Linked DNA regions of Homo sapiens: all the other regions are linked to region 2. Evidence: promoter capture Hi-C in 16 types of primary human blood cells and fetal thymus (Javierre and others, 2016). All regions are on one chromosome and are shown on one strand. The core of a region is centred on a gene start or on the middle of the fragment in contact, and the rest is flanking DNA. Distances in the headings are between cores, read along the strand shown. Region 1 overlaps NEK10 (NIMA related kinase 10). Region 2 holds the start of CMC1 (C-X9-C motif containing 1). Region 3 overlaps NEK10 (NIMA related kinase 10). Region 4 overlaps SLC4A7 (solute carrier family 4 member 7). Region 5 overlaps LOC124906221 (a long non-coding RNA gene). Region 6 has its middle 45 kb from the start of LINC02084. Region 7 overlaps SLC4A7 (solute carrier family 4 member 7).

Evidence for each region. Contacts are between HindIII fragments. The CHiCAGO score rates a contact against its expected background, and 5 or more counts as called.
Region 1: a fragment that was not itself captured here is called in contact with the fragment with the promoter of CMC1 in region 2 in 1 of 17 cell types (M2 macrophages); the score reaches 5.5 in M2 macrophages.
Region 3: a contact is called between a fragment that was not itself captured here and the fragment with the promoter of CMC1 in region 2, in 1 of 17 cell types (M0 macrophages). The highest score is 6.6, in M0 macrophages.
Region 4: a contact is called between a fragment that was not itself captured here and the fragment with the promoter of CMC1 in region 2, in 3 of 17 cell types (naive CD8 T cells, fetal thymus and total CD8 T cells). The highest score is 5.4, in naive CD8 T cells.
Region 5: a contact is called between a fragment that was not itself captured here and the fragment with the promoter of CMC1 in region 2, in 1 of 17 cell types (non-activated CD4 T cells). The highest score is 5.5, in non-activated CD4 T cells.
Region 6: a fragment that was not itself captured here is called in contact with the fragment with the promoter of CMC1 in region 2 in 6 of 17 cell types (M2 macrophages, M0 macrophages, activated CD4 T cells and 3 more); the score reaches 6.8 in M2 macrophages.
Region 7: a contact is called between a fragment that was not itself captured here and the fragment with the promoter of CMC1 in region 2, in 4 of 17 cell types (fetal thymus, non-activated CD4 T cells, monocytes and 1 more). The highest score is 7.1, in fetal thymus.

The regions. Positions count from the first base shown.
Region 1 is chr3:27,320,979-27,324,237 of GRCh38, forward strand. NEK10 (NIMA related kinase 10) reads right to left here. Exons shown (of 36, transcript NM_001394966.1): 6 at 1,199-1,283. Among named protein-coding and RNA genes, the nearest start is that of NEK10, 47 kb to the right of the region's middle. The HindIII fragment of the contact is 3,046 bases long and covers 210-3,255 here.
Region 2 is chr3:28,240,229-28,243,214 of GRCh38, forward strand. CMC1 (C-X9-C motif containing 1) reads left to right here and starts at 1,391. Exons shown (of 4, transcript NM_182523.2): 1 at 1,391-1,584. The coding sequence starts at 1,566. RefSeq lists a silencer at 1,604-1,683. The HindIII fragment of the contact is 9,835 bases long and covers 1-2,986 here.
Region 3 is chr3:27,303,466-27,306,520 of GRCh38, forward strand. NEK10 (NIMA related kinase 10) reads right to left here. Exons shown (of 36, transcript NM_001394966.1): 12 at 1,282-1,506. Among named protein-coding and RNA genes, the nearest start is that of NEK10, 64 kb to the right of the region's middle. The HindIII fragment of the contact is 4,760 bases long and covers 1-3,055 here.
Region 4 is chr3:27,394,510-27,397,411 of GRCh38, forward strand. It overlaps SLC4A7 (solute carrier family 4 member 7), which reads right to left. Exons shown (of 26, transcript NM_001321103.2): 19 at 445-606; 20 at 9-260. Among named protein-coding and RNA genes, the nearest start is that of NEK10, 27 kb to the left of the region's middle. The HindIII fragment of the contact is 601 bases long and covers 1,008-1,608 here.
Region 5 is chr3:27,641,075-27,644,303 of GRCh38, forward strand. The region is part of intron 1 of LOC124906221 (a long non-coding RNA gene); the gene reads left to right. Among named protein-coding and RNA genes, the nearest start is that of LINC02084, 70 kb to the right of the region's middle. The HindIII fragment of the contact is 309 bases long and covers 1,286-1,594 here.
Region 6 is chr3:27,666,161-27,669,368 of GRCh38, forward strand. No RefSeq gene overlaps it. Among named protein-coding and RNA genes, the nearest start is that of LINC02084, 45 kb to the right of the region's middle. RefSeq lists a silencer at 695-744. The HindIII fragment of the contact is 2,506 bases long and covers 189-2,694 here.
Region 7 is chr3:27,471,915-27,474,859 of GRCh38, forward strand. The region is part of intron 1 of SLC4A7 (solute carrier family 4 member 7); the gene reads right to left. Among named protein-coding and RNA genes, the nearest start is that of SLC4A7, 11 kb to the right of the region's middle. RefSeq lists an enhancer at 1-210. The HindIII fragment of the contact is 3,019 bases long and covers 1-2,900 here.

The DNA.
Region 1 (3,259 bases), core at 483-2,982, 920 kb before region 2:
CTCCCACTGGGATGGCCTTGGGCTTCCCTGTAAAACAGAGGATGGTTACTTTTCCAAACTTGGCACTTAAAGGAAACATATTCTGACTCAAATAACAATTCATCAATAAAATCGAGTTCAAAATTAAAGGTGTGAGCTTCCTAGTAGCTTACGAGGGCAGGGCATAAAAGGAGACACTTTTTCAGTTAAAAAAAAAAAAGTGTTAAGTAAGCTTTTCTTTAGAGCCTCACAGCTAAAGCACTATGTCTTTGCTACTCAAAGTATGGGCCATGAACTAGTAGCAATAGCATCCCTGGGAAACTTGTTAGAAATGAAGAATCTTGTTTATACATACTGAGTCAGATTCTGCATGTACAAGATGTCCAGGTGATTCCCATGCACATTAAAGTTTGAGAGGCACTAAAAACAGAGGCCAGGCATGGTGGTTCATGCCTGTAATCCCAGCACTTTGGGAGGTAGAGGCAGGCAGATCACCTGAGGTCAGGGGTTTGAGACCAGCCTGGCCAACATGGTGAAACCCCATCTCTACTATAAATGCAAAAATATTAGCCGGACATGGTGGCACGTGCCTGTAGTCCCAGCTACTCAGGAGGCTAAGGAGGGAGAATTGCTTAAACCTGGGAGGTGGAGAGTGCTAGGATTATAGGCGTGAGCCACCATGCCCAACCAGGAAAAGATTCTTGACCTCAGTGCCCTCCTTTGGGACAAGCAGGAGGCTCCTTGCTCACCTCTAGCTCAAATTTGACTCTAGAGGTTGGGAAGGGATTGACCCTGGAGCAGCTAGTAAAGCTCCATTGGCTGCCTCTCAGCCACATGAGCAGGCCATCACTCATCACTGCTGACTTTGACCTAGGGAGCTGCTTGGCCTTGAACATGTTTGAAGATGTGGCCAAGTGTATACCTCCTTGAATGGTAAATGGTTTAAAATGCCAAATAGCAAAGAAAACATAGACCAAAAAGTTCAATCCACTTAATCCCATAAGTAATACAACAGAAATACACAAATTTTTGGTCCCCATTAAAGCGCTCCTCTCAAATCTTTTTAAATAGTAGATGAGACATTCCCCATATATGGAAGCTATTGAGTTGTGAGAGAGAAAACAAAAAGTAAACATGGACTACTTCAAAGAAAAGCCCACCAGTCTTTTATTACAACTTTATAACAAGTAAAAAAAAAAATTGTATTTTTCCAACCAACCTGATAACATGGATCCCTCATTAGTAGCCTCAGACAGATTAACACTCTCAGAAAATGAATAGATGGGGCTCGATTAACCCACTCTCTGAAAGAAGAAAACAAGAGAACATGTTCACGTTTAAAATCCCAGTGTGGCAATTCATAAAAATGCAAGGCTATGAAGGAGTATAAAGAACGCACTAAGCACTTAGTTAATTTGCACTGGGGACTGTTATTTGGTACTTGAACACTTGACTCATTTTAATTCAAAACACATTTAAACTATCTTTTTCAGTGTGGAGGAGAGGCCCCCCCCAAACTTATTTGGTTCATGCCACCACCCTTACTGACTCAGTAATATTTCATAGTACCCTAAGATCAAACGAAAGAGCTAAATGTTCCAAAATTTAGGTAGGTCTAACTTGGTAAGAATTTACGCCATAACCAATTGGTATCCACTTGAAAAAATAATACATTACATCAAAAGATTATTTTCATAACCACACTTACTTATTAATGGGGGTGTGTGCATTAGTGGAAACAAAACAACTTCTCAAGCCTGGGAATCAGTTTGGACTTCACCATCTTTGTTTTCTCTTCCCCCTTTCATAGAGTACTTGTTTTTTTATCATAGCAACCACTGAAAACTCAGCTTCTGAAAGATATACCATCAGCTAAAGGAAGGCAGGATGACCTAACATTGAAATCACAAACTGCCTTCAGTTGTTCATGCTGTATCTGATGGATGTTGAGTAGCACTGAGGGTGTTTTTGGTTTTGTTTTTTAGAAAATTGAAAATACCTCACAGTGTCCCCTGGGAGTTCTCTGCAGCCCTGAGGCAGTTTGGTGCTCAGTTTGGGAAACACAGGGATAAAGTATTTTTTTAGATTAGTTTCCCCAGAAGCAGACCCTGAGATGAAGATTAGTGTGTGCAAATTAATGACTGAAAACATGCTCTCAGGAGAGGCCAGTAAGAGAGTGGGAGAAACAGGAAAGGGAAGAGGAGAAATCCAAGCAAGGGTATCACATCAGCCAAAATCTCCCCTCAATCCGAACAGTGGGGCTCTGGAATGTAAGTTACTGCTCAGAGTTGTCCCATACTGAGGCAAGGGCACTGGGCTTTTCTACACTACTGAAGCTGTTGCCATTCGCTAAGAGCTGCAGGAGGGACTGATGGAGCATTCCCAGACACTCCCACTGGCTCTCTGTGCCTGCAGGCAAGGTAGACTCAAGGAACCTGAGGGTGGTTGGTGCAAGTGTTGTTGGACAGGAAGGTGCCAAAACCAAAAGGGTGAGAACGGGAGGATTCTGGGCAAAGCACCAATACTACCCTACAGTTCTATAGTGAGATTCAGCAGAACCCTTTGAAATCAAAGTCACAGTCACTGGAGAAGTCATATTATGACAGAAACTGAAGGTGTATTTGCCACAGGTCTGTTCAGAGGGGGGAAAAAAAAACCTGGATTTTTACTTCAAATATTGAATATAGCCAATATCCAAAATACCATCATCAGATTTCTAAAGAACTATTTAACTTAAAAGTATCACTTCAATGTCATCAAATGCTACAAGTATTCACTCAACTACCTTTTGAGAGGCTTTCAAAAAGTATGTTTCTTTAGCAAAGAATGATTTAGTTGCATCCTTCAAAGGTCTTTAAAATAAGGACAATTGCAATTTTGCAATGTTTTTGAAAGAAGCCAGACACTAATCAAATTCAGAGGTGGTCACAAGGCCTTGCACCCAGCAGCTAGCAGCTACTCAAATATATATGGATGACCAATTCTCTGATTTAAACCAGTGTGGTAAAGGTAGGCACATTTTAGGCACCTCTCACTTAGATTTAAACCTAAGGGAGCATATCAGTCAAGGCAGAATCCCTCCACTGTCATGCCTCTATGAGCTCAGAAGGTGAGGTTAGCTTAGAAGTAGGAAGTCAGGGTAGGGATAGTCTATGCTCTTTGGTGACACCCACATCCCTTCCTGACCCTGCTGGGCCACTGTGAACAATTTCTATTTTGTCGCTCAGCTGTCCCACATCCAGTTATAGCTAGTAGTAAATGCAGTCAAAATGTTAAAGCT
Region 2 (2,986 bases), core at 141-2,640:
ATACCCTTTTGCATATAGAAAGATTTAGTTTAATTCTTGAATATGGGTGTCTGACCTGTGTTTTCATACTCCATCTCCTCAAAAAGATTGCTTTAGCTTTCTAAATCAAATCCTTCACCTTCAGAACAATAAAAGAGGCATACCAGAGTCATTTTGGTGTATTTCTAAGCATATTTACAAAATATACAAGGAAAAGGACCTGATTCCCTGGCTGGGTGAGTGAAACGTTAATTCTTCACCTTGGCACCTCAACCTACAGCTGTAATAAGGGCCGTTATGCCCAAATAGGCCCTTAAACGGAAGACCTGCTGAGCAGAGACCCACTTTCCCAGCCCTGCTCAACTGCCTCAGCTTTTCTGCCAACTGACCAGGCGGAAGCAGCAGCAGGGGAGGAGGGACTGCAGGTAGGTGGGGAGGGGATCATTTTGAAAGCCCTGAATCCCTTGCAGGGAAGAAGCAGCTGCTCCTTGTTTTTCTAAACATCTGTCCCATCTGTCCCAGGCCTCAGCTCACCCTTTCGTGGCTCGAGCCAGTTAAACGTGAATTTGACAAGGAAGCACTTCTGAAGGCTGGTTTGTGAGTGGAAATGAACCTAAGTGCCACCTAGAAAGTTTCTTCTATTGAGAAGAGGTGAGTAGTGGGTCTTCAGCGGGACGGCTATTACCTTCCTTCATTTTACTCTCACAAAACATACAGCTTTTACTGATAGAGGCAGGATTTGTAACATCACCCAAATCATACTGTACGTCCTGAGGATATTATTTCACAACATAGAGGTACTTCTAGAGCCCATATTTTAACGTCTAGGAGAGCCACAGTCTTTGATTTGAAGGAGAAATAACGATATTGCACACACCATATCACCTTTATGGTAGAACAAGCTGTGAACAACTAGTGCGTGTGGCGTTTATCACATTTAACAGCGTGTTGCTTTTATTTGTCTCCTCTGCCACACTGCTCCTTGAGAACAGGGACGTTATTTTTATTGTTATTTTCCCCTCGTATTCAGAACCGTGGCTGGAACTTGGCAGGCATGAAATAGACATTTATGAATGAATGAACGTTAACGAAGAAAAAAAAAGGAACTGGATGATTCATTTGGTTCTCCGAAGGCGGGTATGGGGGACGGGGCTCGGACTTTGGCCCAGTCACCGAGTGAGGCACAGTCCCAAAGTCCTGCAGGTCCGCCTCCAGTCACGGCCGACCCGGGTCTGCAACTGGTGCACAAGCCTCCTGAAGCGAGGCTGCGCGCGTCCTGCACGGTCCCGCCCCAAAGGCACGCAGACACGCCCCCTTTCCTGGTCATTCCCCCTGCGAAGTCAGTTCCACTCTAGTTACAGGATTGGGGCGGGGCCAGAAAGGCGCAGGCGCAACGGGCGGCGGAAGTAGGAGCCTGGGAAGGAAGAGGGAACGGGTCCTGGCGGTGCTTTGCAAAGGGCCCGTGTTTCTGTTGCGGGAAGCTCCCGGGGGTCGCACGTGCGTCCGAGCCCAAGCCCCTCCCCTCCACTCCCCTTCCTGCGTGCCCCGGAGCCGCCAAGCGGCTACGTTCTTCTCGGCCCGCCGAGATGGCGCTCGACCCCGCAGGTACCGGGGCGGGAAGCGGGGTTTGCCGAGGGGCCTCGCCCCGGGTCTCACGCCGCGGGCCATGCGGGCTGGATGCCGACCTGGGAAAGGTGCAGAGCTCTGGGTAGCATTGCTTCCACCAGCGTCTCCTCATACCCGGCGGCTGCTTCGCCCGGTCTGAGGTCATCTTCTCACTTGTTGGGGATTATGGTTATCTGAGGTTGCGTTTGTTGTCTAAAGTATCATCCATTGTGGTTTCCAACTTAACGCGACTAGTCTCTTCATTGTCACCCTCTTTTCGCCCCTTAAGGTCACAGATGCATTTAATGTATGCTGCAGACACTCTGGCCCCAGAAAAATTTGTATATTTGTTCTGGCGCACAGTTTTACATTTCTGTTTGGGAGTTCATGGACCCCGAGTTCATCCTTGTAACCCAACTTAAAAACATATTTCAAAGGATCCATCACTATGGCAGGAGTCAGTTTCTTTGGAAAGGATCTTCAAAATCTTGAATGTTGTTTTAATCTCTTTGCTTCCAGCCACTTCCGTTTGCAGCAATAGTTAACTTACCCTCGAATTCCCGTCCTTGTGGAAGGTCACCTGCAGTATCTTTGCGTTAGGCTATTTTTGCAAGGGAATAGATAACATTTTTGGAGGGAATGGTAGTTGGTCTAGTCCATTTCTTTCATTTTATGGATACAAAAAGTCAAAACATTGAGAGGTAAATGGCGTCAAACTTGGGAGATTCAGAAATGGAAAATGCTCTTTCGGAGCCTTCAAGGAGCATGGAAAATATATGTAGCACAGAAATAATGTTTTAATTGAACATGTTATTACCATGCTAAGTGTTCTCTATTATCCAACAATAATATGTGGTATGGTAGGTCCTTTTAGCTCCATTTTACAGATTAGGAAACTGAGGCGAAGAGAAGTTAAGTGACTAGTCCAGCAGGTAGTGGTAGATCAGGGAGTACTCTAATTTGAAGCATAGAGGAGTTCTGGAACATAATGATCATATTCATTTTGGACTAGGTGGTTATGAAGCAGTTAGCAGTTGATCTGGGCTTTGAGGGATGGAATTTCCAGTGGTTGGAGCTGGAGAAGAGGCAGCCCTATGAGCAAAGGTTTAGATAGTAAGGTGCACTGTGCGATGCTTGGTTTCAGGATGACTACCATGATTTGGTTCTTGAGGGTAGAAGGGGTAGAGTATAAGTGAGGGGTGAGTAAGGAAGGTTCAAGTTTAGGCCCATATAATTTATGGTATCTTTTTTTTTTATTTTACTGAAACGGAGTCTCACTGTCGCCCAGGCTGGAGTGCAGTGGCGCTATCTCGGCTCACTGTAGCCTCCGCCTACTGGGTTCAAGCAATTCTCCCACCGCAGCCTCCTGAGTAGCTGGGATTACGGGCGCCCGCCACCACGG
Region 3 (3,055 bases), core at 34-2,533, 940 kb before region 2:
CATCCTACAAACCTAAATAAAAAACCTTTGGCAATTGTAATTATTTTGACCAAGGGGCTGGCTTATTATGTCACAGCACTAATGAATGACTTATAATTTATACTATAAAGTAATTGATATTTTTATGTCACATTCATGAAGCAAGTGGGTTGTCAACAGTCTATAAATTTTTCCTTTGTTTAGGTAATGACAAATATTGTTAACAAAGCTACTGTTCATGTCTGTACAGTCTATTCTTATGCTTCTGAATGTTCCTTAAGAGAAAATGAAGTTGGTAACACACAGTTCTGCAATATCGCTGGAAGCATAACAAATACAAAGTCATAACAACATTGATTTGATAATATCTAGTTATATGAAAATTGATAAGTCCCTCTGCTTTTATTAGAATGAGCTTTATTTATGTACTGCAGATCATAAAGACGATCCAGTTCAAGGAGGCATACTCATTTTTAACTTTGGTTCAGCACCCATAGAACTGAATTATACTTTATAACAATATTAGGTAATAGAATCTTCCCATGGATGGTACCACAAGATATTATTATTAAATACTTCAATCTATTTAATTCAGAAAATACAGAAGTTAGTTTGCAACGTACTTCTAGAGAATTTCAATTGGGAACAAAACTATCCATTCTCCGTGCTCCTGACTTAGAATGTCACTGGAATTCTACTTTTAAAAGAGAGATAATGCCCACCTTAGAGGACCGTAATGAAGATTAGAGAGAAAAGTAGAGAACTGGACTAGAGTTAGTAACATGGCAACCACTTGATTAATGATATCATCTTTCAAAAACAAGGATTGTACACCTGCTCCTTTCATATAGGCTTTGTTTTCTCTTTATAGATAATAACATATGTGCACACACAAACATTTTAGGAAAATATTAGTAATCATTATACTTGGAATGACAAAATGCATATACTAATTCAAGGAAAAGGTGGCAAGACAAAGGTTTTTTTTAGGTTACTGGATTTCCATTCAGCCTTCATTATATTTGCAGATTGATGGCCTTCTACATTCCCAGCACTGTACTGGAGGTTGGTGATGCAAAGATAAATATATCTGGGTCCCCAAGGAATTTAAAAGATGAATGCCCCTGACATTGATTTAGAACATGCTTGTGACAAGTCTAGATGACTTTGGAAAGCATGAATTACCAAAGAAATCCCAAAGCAGGAGGGAATGAGGTGACACACACCAATCTGCCATCTTGTCACAGAGTCCCCAGACTTCAACAAACAGGGCAAAGTAGGCCAAAGCCCACTTTTACTCACCCTTGTAAAATATGAAGAAGCTGTTTGATGCCTCCCCAAATGCGAATTTCCACGCTGGTCTCAGGGTCCTCACAAACCTGTACCAGAATCCAGACAATGCTCCAGAGGAGCTTCAAGTGGTCAGAGTGGAGCAGACTGAGGAGGACCGGTATCCCCTCATAGAGCTTCACCTGCTCTTTCACCTGGGGCTCTGCACAAAGTAGGCGCAGCAACTCCGCTGTTAGTCTGAAAGGGGTACAGAGGGTGGGGTGAGAATCACAGCATCATGAGTTGATTACTTTACATTAAGACTAAAGCTATCATCAGTGCATGAAATATAACCCTAACATTTTGTAAGTCATGGGTCAATGTGCCATTTTCTGTAAGGAGCCCGATCAAAGCCAAACACTTTTAGCTTTACTAACTGTACAATCTGTGTCACAACTACTCAGCTATGCTGAGATAGCATGAAAGCAGCCATAGACAACATATAAAAATAAATTCGCATCCCTATGTTAAAATAAATCTTTATTTACAAAAATAAGCAGTGGAATAAACTTAGACTGTAGGTCATAGTTTGCAGACCACTGTTCTAAATTATAGGCTCGTTGCATCATCGTTGGTCTGATTAAAAACCTACTGACCAGCATTGGCAGGGCGTGGTGGTGTGTGCCTGTAATCCCAGCCACTTGGGAGGCTGAGGCAGAAGAATTGCTTGAACCCAGGAGGCAGAGGTTGCAGTGAGCCGAGGTCACTTGCCACTGCACTCCAGCCTGGGTGACAGAGCGAGACTCTGTTTAAAAAACAAAAACAAAAACAAAAAACAAACCTACTGACCAGCAAATAGGTATCAAGGACAAACAATGACATCTGCATTGTGCTAAAGACTAAAAAAAAAAAAAAAATAATAATAATAAAAGCCTTATTCTAGTCTTCAGAAACTTACTATGTAATTGCAAAATAAGACATTCTTAGAAAATGTCAAAAACACTACAATGCAGGTAAGTTAAGGGCAAAGCACTCAGTTACTATATACTCAGTGCAAAGTGCATTAAATTGATGGTAAAGACACAAGGTTCAGCTGTGCCATGAAATATTATGATGATAAACGTTTTATAGAATCATCCTTAGTCCTCCAGTTTCATACTCTAAACACTCCCCTCCTGGATGGTGTCATCCATTCCCATGATTTCAAACACTCTTTCAACCCTGTCATCATGATCTCAGCCCAGGCATTGCTCCTAACTTCCAGAAGTTTTAGCCACATGGATATTCCACAAGTACTCTCCATACTACCCCTAAACTCAAAGTCATTAGCCTCCTCCCCAGGTCTATTCTTCACCTTATATCCCCGATCTTGACTCATGGCACCACAATATTTTCAGTCTTCCAAGCCACAAGACTGGGAGTCATCAAGACACATACTCCTCTTTTCACACTCCTCCACTGTCAATCAAGAGCTCTTAGTGTTTTCTATTTCCTGGGCAACGTTGGGATTCTTTTGAACACCAGGCAGCTAGGTAACCCCACTGCTCCTCCCATCCTTGTAATCCTTTGTCATGCTCAAGATATAAATCCCTCTTTCATCTACCTCTCCAATATTCTCATTCTCATACGGCTTTCTCATTCCTTTCCCCTGAGCTGATTACCTATGGCTCCTCTCCCTCCCAAATTTTGTGCTCTGACATTAATAATAAATGTTCCTTGATAAATAGTATTCTTTACCTTCACGAACTTTCCCAGCCTCTCTTTGTTGTAAGTGGATCTCAATGTGTGGATATAAACAAACACCCCC
Region 4 (2,902 bases), core at 58-2,557, 850 kb before region 2:
AATTTTACCTTTAGGACTGAAGTCATGAACACAGAGAGGCCCATTAGAATAAAAATCATTAGCCCTGTAACCCGCTGTTCACGAATTCCCAAAAACTTGGGTTGTTCCCCTGGAGCAGAACATTCAGATTCAACTTTTAAGCTGTTGACATGACTTATTGACAACACTGTTGCAGCCACAAACCATGGAAGTCCCATGACAGAGCAAACTCCCAACATAACGCCAACCATGAGCAAATCAAGGTGATAGCCAGCTCCTTTCTGAAAAGTGAAATGAACATAAATATCTGTAAGTCTAAATGGTTCCCTCAATTTAAAATTCTACACGAATTATAAAGAGGGAAGAAGCTAATTTTCATCTTACATCTTTTAATGTTCTAATCATTACAAAAACAGCTCAAACCCTTGAAGAATCACAATGCTTAAGGCAAAATTCTAAAATTACCTTCAATTTGTGTTCCTTTCTGTTTATAATTACAGCTGTGATTTGTTGATCCATAAAGATGAGAATGGTACAAAGCAAAGCAGGAATAGCAGCTATTAATAAGGTCCACCAAGGATTATCTCCCAGTGGGCTTATGATCCACCCTCTCTCTGGATGAGTAGGCTGTTAAAAAATTAAATATAATTTTCAAAAAGTCTCCTTGCTGTATTGCACTAAATTTCCATAACATAGACTTGATCTGTTCCAAGAAATACCCAACGAATGGGAAATAACTTAAATCTTGAACTACATGGTGAATTATTTTCAAAGATGGCCACAGTAATTCTTCCTATCCCTATAACTATACCTCCTGTCATTTGACTCAGTCAATCTTTCCACCTAGAGGTGGAGTCTGCCTCCTTCCCCCCTGAAACCAGGATGACCCTGTGACTTACTTTAACCCACAGAATAAGGCCAAAGTGACACTATGTGATTTCTAAGTCTTAACCTTAAAGAACCTTGCAGCTTCTTCTCTAACCTGCTTTGAACCCTGAGATTATTACGCTGTCGAGTAAGCCTAGATAAGCTTTCTTGAGGATAAGACTATCCTCAATATAGTCTATATGGTAGTGGGTGTCGGGGGCGGTTCCCCAGGCAACTATTCCAGCTGTTTCATCCATCTGAGCTGAGGCCTCAGACATATGAATGAAGGCATATTGCCCCCATTGATGACTGCACCCCACAGAGCAGACCACAAACCAGCTAAGCCTAGTCTCAACTGCCACAGAATTATAAACAAATAAAGGGCTGTTATTCAAAAGTTTGTTATGTAGAAATTGATAAGCAAACTGGAATGTCATTTCCACATGTTCCTGCATAATTCATATAAGGTGAAATCAATCTATCCACTAAACTCCTAAACTAAACTGCTTTAGTCTAGTCCTGCAGACTTAGTGATTTTGACAGGGTCAGTACTAAATCAGAACTGGTCCACAATACATGGTATTTCCAAAGGAACTACTAACAAAAATCTGGCACTTTATGAGATACTAATACATTTTGACAGTACAATGTAAGATTTTATAGCAATTTTTTTTTAAAGATCAAGAGAGTTTAGTATGTTTGGGAGAATACTGCATATATAGAAACCTAAACATATGTTTTTATTACCTCAACTTGGTATTAAGCTTGTTTCTTCTTCATGAAAACATTTGTCAATATAAAAGGGAAATTTAATACTTTCAAAGTTCAGGTAATTCAATCTTTCCACACTAATATATATTAAACTACCTCACACTCAATGTTGTGTATGAACAAAAATATTTTATTCTACTTATACAATGCCATTTACTCTTAAGAGTTCCTTGATTTGCTTCCTCAAGTATATTTTATGCCCCTTGAAATCAGCCTATTACCTGAAAGCCATATCAGTAAATAAATAACAAGGACATATTTAAGAATCAGAATAAGGAACTTAGGCCAGGATTACAGGAAATTACATCACGTTTTGAACCAATATTAATTCATAGTTTCATTTATTTATATATTCTCATAAAATAAACCTAAAGTTTAATATTTTCATATTTTTACATTAAAAACATAAGACTTTCTAAAAATTGTTGGCAGATCATTTTCCACCTGTGTACCCTACTTTAAAGACCACTGATTTTAAAAATAACATTTTGGTCTCAGTGCAATATTATAAAATTAGATTTTATAATATAAAATAAAATGATCTTCATTATATTCCTTATTTCGGATCCCCTTTAAACCAGCTGCTTCTGAAAGAAGTCATATAACTTGTTAAATTAAATATAACCAGTGACACTATTCACAATGTCTTTCCTTTTAGCATAAGCAAAGGAGGATGGAAGAAAACAAAAACAGAGCAGAAGGAAAATGAATATATTCAAATCTGCTAATGAAAGCAGAAAATTCAAATGGATGCTCAGATCATTTTTCTTATAGAACACACTTCGTTTTCTCCTTATGCTACTGGAAATTGTTACATGGAATTTTCCAACTACTGTCAGATATACTACCCTTCTAGAAATTTAACTAGACCCTCTCTGCCACTCCTAGAAAATTGAATTTTAGGTTACTTTTTTTTTTTGAGATGGAGTTCCCCTCTTATTGCCCAGTCTGGAGTGCAATGGCATGGTCGCAGCTCACTGCAACCTCCGCCTCCTGGGTTCAAGCGATTCTCCTGCCTCAGCCTCCCGAGTAGCGGGATTACAGGCGCCCGCCACCACGCCTGGCTAATTTTTGTATTTTTAGTACACCATGTTGGCCAGGCTGGTCTTGAACTCCTGACCTCAAGTGATCCACCTGCCTCGGCCTCCCAAAGTGCTGGGATTACAGGCACAAGCCACTGCACCTGGCCTGGGTTACTTCTTTATAAAAAAATAAAGGCTGTTTCCTTCTCCCTGGAAGGTACAGCAAGAACTCCAGGTAGGAGAGCAAAGACTTTTTTTTTTTT
Region 5 (3,229 bases), core at 190-2,689, 600 kb before region 2:
GGCTGGTCTCCAACTGCTGGGCTCAAGCAATCCTCCTGCCTCGGCCTCCCAAAGCACTGGGCTTATAGGCATGAGCCACTGCATCTGGACCCCAGCTCTTACTCTTTTGAGGTTCAGCACTTGGAGAATCACTCTTAGATTGAGGTAGGACCACTAATAGCTATTATCAGGAAAGAATATCAAAGAGGAACTCACCATGAGGGAAAGGTAGGTCAAGGCTGGTAACCCAAGTTCAATGCAGAGAGGTGGAAGAGGGTGTGGGGGAGGGTTGGTATTGGTACAACATACAGCTGAGGACAAATACTGTTTGGTAGTGCTATACCTTGGTGACTATATGAAGCACATGAAGGTTAATGAAAATAATTATAACCTTGGATCAATCCCAAGTTGGGGTGCTATTAACCAAGGCATGATTCAACCAGTAAGTGTCTCAGTTTAGCAGATAACTGTCCCCCAGCCTGTGTGGGATCAGTCTCCAAGAGTCACACCCACAGCCAAAGCAACAGTGGGATTGGCCTGATGTGTGACTTTCAGTTTTCTCTCTCCCCTTGCTTTGATTAAGGCCCTCATGTCCTTAGACTATTTGCAGAGTGATGAGTGGTCTTTGGGAAATACTGTGCTTCTTAATAATAAGAGAAGGCCTGATTCCACTTGAGCTTATCAAGTGGGCTGTAAGAACTTCAAGGCCTAGGTTAAAGGTAAAGAAAAAATGTATACGGTTATCACATAGATTAGATTAAATCTTTTTTTTTTTTTTTTTTAACAAAACTCCTGGCTGAGTTAAGTAAGTGACTTTTGAGTTAAGAAAAAGAGATACCTGGATAAGGAAGACTCTACATGAGTGTTTCAGCTAAGACTCCGGGGCTTGGTGTGGATGAATCTGTTCATTAGCCCCGCCTTACTAAATACTGCCTTAATAGGGCTTATTTCTATCTGAATATATAGCATGATTCACTTGCTCTTGTTTATGAGGTAGGAGTAGGGAGGAGGCTGAAGGAGAGTGGCAATGGGAAAGATATATGCTTACCTTTCAAAGGGAGGTGGCCACTTGGCTGCCAGAAGGTTGGGGAAATGACCTCTGTCAGGGCAATATCCCTACATCAGATCCATTGCCTGCCCTTAACCAAGGAAACCAAGGAAAGCCCTGAGCAGGGCTGGAGGAGGAGAGTGTGCCAGCCTCATGGGCTATAGTAGTCCTGGTGACGGGCTGAGACATACAGAAACCAACACAGAAGTGAGGACTGACTCCTCTTAACCCTCCACTTCAAACTCCATGGGAGCACTAAGCTTGGGGAACACACCCACCATTCAGGTGAACCTCGGGAGGTTTCAGCATGTTCCAAGGTACAACAGTCAAGTTAGCACATAACAGCATGTCTTGAAACGGCAGGTAATAAGCATTAATCTCCCTAATAAATTCATTAGTCAGCTGTATAGTCTTGAAAGTGGTTTGTACACTCAGATCATAAATTAAACCCTGGTTAGATATTAACCACCTCTGACTTTGCTCAGCAAATGTCCCAGTAGCCCTAATGGGATCAAAAGATTCCATTAAGGTTTCCTGCTTTTCTTTTGCCTAATTACACTGATACAAAGCTTCACAGAGAATTTTTAGGGTATAGTTTAAAAAAAAAAGGCAATGCCTAATCTAACTTTCATGGGCATATTTACTAAAAAAAAAAGACTGACTATGCACGCAGTCATTCAGGATTCTGGATTTCTGGAAACAGATACTTCTCAGGGCATCTTTGTAGGGAGATTAGATGAGATTTCTATCACTCACACGGCTCTTCTTTCAGGGTGGGCTCCCTTGAAGCCTATGTCCGTAAGACCAGCCCTCTGTCCAGTTGTCTTTCTCTCTGGCTGTTTTGACACACATTTCTTGACGCAATATTTCCCTTTTTGGGTATTTTTAAGCTTAATCATACATTATCTATCCAAATCCAATGTTTTGCATTCCTTGTATAGAGAGGTCTGTGAACTAGCAAAGCTTAGAGAGATACCAGGAACTCCTGGCAAAAGTATTTTTCAATACCCTGCCAATCACCTCTCTCTCTCTCAATCCCTAGTTTTATTTTTCCTTCCCCTCTGCCCTGTGCTGCCCGCTCCGCAGAGAAAATCCTTCTTTCTGTCTTCCACTCTCCTGCCTCTTTGCTGTGAAAACTGCACGCATGTTCAGAATACCCACCTTTCTGTTTCTCCCTCATCTAACCCCCTAGTCCCCATCCCTTCAAACTGACATTTCCCCAAACCTCTCCAGATGGTCCCTTGTGCTTTATCATCCCATCTCTACCTCTCTCATCATTCAGCCCTTGGAGGTAAAGGACCTCTGCATAACAGAAGTTGGTTTTGAAATATTTCAGAATTTGACTCTTCCAGACAGCTGTCTTTGTGGCAGGCATGATCCTAGGTCTCTGGGGACACAGAGGAGAACAAAACAGAAAATATCCTTAGCTCCTAGAGCTGACTAACATCCTGCTCTCAGCTCAAGGGGGTAAATACCTGTGGCATTTCTACTCACAATCAATTGGTTTGTTTATTGACTGTTGCCAAATTTCGGGGGTTTTTTAAAACTGAACTTCCTTGACAGTAACAAAGCAAGACTTTGTATTTATTAATATACTTTAAAAAATTAAGGTGGAGAAGTTTTTTCAATATGTTTTAACGTATCCGCAATGAGAACACATGCGCAAGCAGTCTATTGAGAACTCAGAGGTCAACAAAAGAAGGTTGAACAAATGTTTGGATTGTCAGTGTCATCCTGCAGATGGATCTGCTCTCCAGATGAATTTTTAATACAATCTCAGGTCCTTTTCATTGGAAAATTATCTTATTTTACACTGATACATTTATCTATGCATCTATTTTTTTTTTATTTTTTTAGAGATGGGGTCTTGCTCTGTCACCAAGTTGAAGTGCAGTGGCATGATCATGCATCCTCGAACTCCTATGCTCAAGCAATCTTCCCACCTCAGCCTCCCAAGTAGCTGGAACTACAGGCACGCACCATCATTCTTGGCTGATGTTAATTTTTGTAGAGACAGGGTCTCACTATTTACCCAGGCTAGTCCCGATCTCCTGGCCTCAAGCGATTCTCCTGCCTTGGCTTCCCAAAGTGCTGAGATTATAGGTATGAGCCACAGTGCCTGGATGACTTTTTATTGTTTTAAAATTTTTTATATACATTTATTTTTCCATATTATGAATGTAAAATGTAAGTAAGTTTTTA
Region 6 (3,208 bases), core at 192-2,691, 570 kb before region 2:
CCAGCCTGGGCAACAGAGAGAGACTCTGTCTCAAAAAATAAAATAAAATAAATATAAAAAACCAGGAAAAAAAAGAAAAAAGGAAACTAGTATTTGGAACATAATATGTAGCTCAGAACTTCCAGCAATTATATGATGTCCACTGTCCATTAGTAGAAAAAATAAGCCACAGTTCATGAAGAAACAGAAGCTTTTCCTGGTACTGAGTTCTCAGAATCTATCACTAGACTCTTACTTATTGTAATGAAGTCTCCCACAGCTGTTTTTACAGGAAATGCAAACTTGTCTCCCATGTGACTTTGGCGAAAGACCCAGTAAACAACAACAGTCCTGAAAGCACAAAGCTACAGGAATAAGTCCTCCCAGCCCTATCCTCTACTCAAGGTCTGAATGCAACACACCTGTGGCTTGTTTCTGGCTCAACAATAATCTTTTCCTCACAAAGCAGCTCTTAAGCACTAAGCAGGGCTTCCTGTCACTAATCCCCAAAACATTTCTATGGGATAAAAACAGGAGACCAAGGGTAGACTCCTGCTAATTTAGAAACATTTTAAAAGATGGCTTGGGTTCAGTCTGCTCATTCCTCCCTGCCTCTACCACCACAAACCTAAAGAAAACAAAATTCCTACAGAAAAGCAAACTGTAAAACTCACAACCGCAGCATGAAATGAGGAAGCAATGGGGTGCAGCACAAACTGTAATGTGGAAATGCTACACAGCGTCTCTCTGCTGCCTCCCACCAGCCAGGGCCGGGCTGGGAGCCAGGTCTGAGAAATAGTAGCACATGCTGCCACTCTTTTTGTGGATGGTTGCCATGGCAACCTGCCTCTGTTCAAATGCTGAGCATCTTTCAGCAGTCTCATCCTTATGCTCTTCTGGCCTGGAAGGGAAGTATTAGAAAGAAGGTAGTATGGGGGGGTTGGGGGAATACCAATGAGGGTATATGAAACAAATAGATTGTTGGAGGATCAGGTAAGATGCCTCCCGTTATACTGGAAGTCTCAAGAAAGGGGTGGAAGATGGGTGGGCTCTCGATGTAGGTCCCACCCTATTTTCTGCAGCAATTTCAGTCATTCATTCATTTACCCACTTGCTCATTCTTACATTAAACTAATTTTATGGAGCACCAATCATACTCCAGGCATTATACTGGGCATTGGAGGTTTAATGATGAAAAAGATACCATCCCCCCCCCCCCCACAGGGAGCTCACAGTTCACATGGGAGATAGGAGATACACACACACACATGCGTGCACACACACACACTCAATTAATCATGATATAATGTTATAAGTGCAGAAATAGACATACATAAAAAATATTACAGACTTGAAAAACCAAGTGCAATTAATTCTTAGAGTTGAGTGTAAGGAGCTGATAAGAGAAAACTGCATAGAAAGGTTAATACTTGAGTAGGGTCTTGAAGGAGTTTGTTAAATGGAAAAAAAAATTGTCCAGACAGGGCACAACACAAACACTTGTGGTATGTTCCACATGGGATGTATCAAACAACCACCAATAATAACAGCACTTGCAGAGTGCTCAGCTACTGTTCTGTGTGCTTTATATGTATTATCTCAGCTAACCCTCACAGTGACTCTGTAGAGGAGGTATTGCTGTGCCATTTTACAGAGGCACAGATAAGTAAAATAACTTGCCTAAAGTTACACTGGTATTTGATATTGGGTGGGAGAACCAGGCTTCTGGCTCCAAAGTTCATGTGCTTAATCTCAGCCTTATGCTTATCCCATTGTTCTGGGAAGGCAAGGTCACAGGATATACATGGGGAAAGAGGAGAAACAACAGTTGAGACTGCTGGGAAACAAAGATGAGGGGTAAATTATCATGCCCTCAAATGCCATTTTAAAAAATCTGAAATTTGTGTTTTGGTCATGAGAAGCCATGATGGTGTTACAATGAAAATGGTATTATTATGGTGATTCTGGAATTCACGTGTAGGATAGAATGGAGGAGAAACAGACTGACGATTTCAACAGCAGGAACAGGAAGAGAAAGGAAGGGGAAGATCGCATGTAGTTTAAAACAAGGCAAGGCCCGTGTCATTTGGTTCATCACAGAGCCTGGTATACCACAGGCATTCAATAAATATTGGTTAAATAAATGTTTCAAAGTTGTCTTATTTGGCTTTACCTGAAAGCAAATTCTGAAATAAAAGTTCCCATATGAGAGTTTATTTAGGAAGTGTGGGGAATACCAGCAGATTAGAGAAGTAAGACAGGGAAGGAAAGGCAGCCAATAAAGGCCGGGCACTGTGGCTCATGCCTGTAATCCCAGCACTTTGGGAGGATGAGGCAAGTGGATTGTTTGAACCCAGGAGTTTGAGAGCAGGACGAAATGATTAAACTTTTTCTCTACAAAAATACAAAAATTAGCTGGCTGTGGTGGTGCATGCCTGTAGTCCCAGCTACTCAGGAGGCTGGGTGGGAGGATTGCTTAAGCCTAGGAGGCGAAATTTGCAGTTAGCCAATATCGTGCCACTACACTCCAGCCAGGGTGACAGAGTGAGACCCTGTCTCAAAAAACAAACAAACAAAAAACCCCAGAAAACAAAAAGGAGGTATAGAGACAGCTTAGTGTTTGAGTTATTTGAACATGTCTGTGATTGACTGATCCCTGGCTGCTGTCACTGGCTGAGACTCAGCTATTTGTTATAAAAGTATATTTCTAAGTTAAGCTTTCAGTTAGTTTAAATACTAAGTTGGTTGCAGTTTGTTCAGTAAGGAGTCAAGTACTGAGGCATCTTCAGGCCAAATTTAGTTTAATTTAACCATTGGGGGAATGTGTTCTTAGTGGTGAGAAGTTGGTGTTTTAGACTCTTGGATTTTATTATTTGGGTGAACTCCAGAAAACTTCCCAAATATTATGGGTGGCTTTTGTAGAAGGTTAATTATATTATTCAACGTTGAAAGCTGAAACTCCATCAAGTAATATTTATAACAAAGATTGAGTAGAAAAGACGGAGGAAGGAGAAGGAAGAGGAAGAGAAAAAAGTGAAGGGAGAAAGAAGGGGAGAGAAAGACTACTACTAAAATCGGCATCACAGGTCCCAAAGCCAGCTCTTGTATCTGAATGTGCAAAACTTGACTAGTGTCTAAAGTTTCTAAACAGTGAGAATGAGATATTAACACGCGATTTGTTTTTCTGGCTAATCATGAAGTTCTCATCTGAAGAAAAATTTCTACTCAT
Region 7 (2,945 bases), core at 141-2,640, 770 kb before region 2:
CCGATTGAAAAAGCTGAAAATATTATCATTCTGGCTTTACATGAAAATCTTCTCAATGAACAGTATTTACTCCTCCAATCAGCTATTTATTCTAGATTAGCAGAGAGGCAGCCATCCCCCATCATCTGAAATTCACTGCTACCAAATTACAATCTTAAACTGCCCCTCCCTCTTCAAAGCTCACAACCATAACAAAGAAAGCACTGGCATGGTATAAAACAATCCCTCAGAGCTAATCCAGTCAATACTCATTTATTGACCTTTTAAGCCATTTATTGCTAAACCAATGCAATTAGCAGATGATAGCAAATAAGTTATATAAAAATTGAATACATGAGCTTAAGTCAGTGACAAGATATTAAATTTTAAAATGTCTTTTTAAATTGAATGCAGCTGGTTTCCGCAATGCACGCCTGTAATCCCAGTGCTTTGGGAGGACAAAGTGGGCTGATCACCCGAGGTCAGAAGTTCAAGAACAGCCTGGCCAACATGGCGAAACCCCATCTGTATGGGTTGCGTCACTGCACTCCAGCCTGGGCGACAGAATGAGACTCCATCTCAAAATATATACATATAAATAAAAATATATATAAAAACAAAATAAAATAACTAAATTGAATGCAGTGATATAAAGTGTATAATTTGCATTTTTCAGCTGTGATCTGAAATGATGAAATTTAATCTAAAAATCATTTCCTCCACTCCCTTTATGACCTTATCTCCCACCTCTTGCCTCACACCTCCAATATGAATTCAAATTCTGATGGGCTCATACTTTGCTATGGAACCATATTAAAATACTGTTTTGATTTCTAATCAATGAAACAATTTCTATTTGTATCTTACCTCTATCAAAATTCCTTTTCAAAAACGAATTGCATCAGGCTGGGCACAGTGGCTCATGCCTATAATCCCAGCACTTTGGGAGGCCGAGGCGGGCAGATCACCTGAGGTTAGGAGTTTGAGACCAGCCTGGCCAACACGGTGAAACCTCAGCTATACTAAAAATACAAAAATAAGCTGGGCGTGGTAGCGCAAGCTAGTAATCCCAGCTACTCGGGAGGCTGAGGCAGGGGAATCGTTTGAATCTGGGAGTCGGAGGTTGCAGTGAGTCCAGATCACGCCACTGTACTCCAGCCTGGGCAACAGAGGAAGACTCTGTCTCAAAAAAAAAAAAAAGGATTAGAATCAGCTTAAAAAATGGAAGAAAACATCTATCTCAAAAATTGATAAGCTGGGCATGGTGTGTGTGTACGCACCATTAGTCTCAGCTACTTAGGTGGCTGAGGCCAGAGGACCACTTGAGCCCAGGAGTTCAAGGCTCCTGTGCACTATGATTATGCCTGTGAATAGCCACCACGTTCTCGCCTGTGCAACATAGCAAGACCTCATCTCTTAAAAAAAAATGTAATTAATAAAGTCAGTACATATACAACCGGCTCTTTAAAACAAGCTGAATTACTTTAAAATTCCTACTTTAACGACCCCTTTGAGAAATCACATTTTTGTAAAATAGAAAGGCAGCTTGAGGCCAGGATCATGCCCATAATCCCAGCACTTTGGGAGGTCAAGGTAGGCGGATCACTTGAGCTTAGGAGTTTGAGACCAGCCTGGGCAACATGGCAAAACCAAAAATACAAAAAATTAGCCAAGTGTGGTGGTGCGTGCCTGTAGTCCCAGCTACTCGGGAGGCTGAGGTGGGAGGATTGTTTGAGCCCGGGGGGTGGAGGGTGTAGTGAGCCGAGATCATATCAGCACTCCAGCCTGGGTGACAGAGTGAGACCTCATGTCAAAAAAAAAAAAAAAAAAAAAAAGGCAGATTGAGTATATTAACCCAATAAAATTCAATGCTACATAGTTATTCTCGAAATTTGTGAACATCTTTTAAGTTATCTAATAATACAAATACATACATAAAATCACAAAGAGCGTATGTGCACAAATTGTGTGTGTACCCAAAACAAAATTTAGAAGACTATCACTTTACCCAATAAAATTCATGGTAATTATTTCATATTACAGAAAAAATATATAAATGGTAAATTTAAGATGAAACTATGAATATGAACCCTTTATAAAGTATAATTTATTATCGTCCTGCCTCAACAGAATAACAACTAGAAACTATCTTACGCCTATTCGACTGAACACTATGCTAAGCTCTCTGACTTTCTATACTCTAGAGACTAAATTTTGAAAGTCTAACATTATCAAAAAGATACAGTAAGATCTCATCAAAACAGAATTAAGCTATCTACAACAAGAATCAGAAAGCAGTCTTAGGAGGTAAAATTTGTGTCTCAGAGAATAAATAAGTGAGATAACAGAGGCCTCCATCATCATCTCCACTAAATAACTGTCATTTCATTTGTTATCAATAACAAATCTACAGCAGATAAGAAATTCAATGATAAAACAGTTAAACACAAGGTAAGTTTTAAAAACAGTATAAAGCTAGTTAGTGATCAGTACTCTATTCTTAAAAGGAGAGATATATCACATTTTAAATATTTTGTCAAAATGGTTAAATCATTTAAAGGTAATCCCAGCACTTTGGGAAGCCAAGGCAGGCAGATCACGAGGTCAGGAGTTTGAGACCAGTCTGGCCAACATAGTGAAACCCGGTCCCTACTAAAAATACAAAAAATTAGCCTGGCATGGTGGCGGGCACCTGTAATCCCATCTACTCGGGAGGCTGAGGCAGGAGAATCACTTGAACCCGGGAGGCAAATGAGATCACGCCATTGCACTCCAGCTTGTGCAACAGTACAAGACTCATGGAGACAGTGACTCCAGGAGACAGTGCGAGCCTCTGTCTCAAAATAAATAAAGGAAGACAATTATGCTTTAATTAGGCTTTTAAACAATTTTGTCAACACATCATATCCTTTAAAATGTGAAGCTTTAGGCAACAAACCAGTATCAGGCCAGGCGCGGTGGCTCAC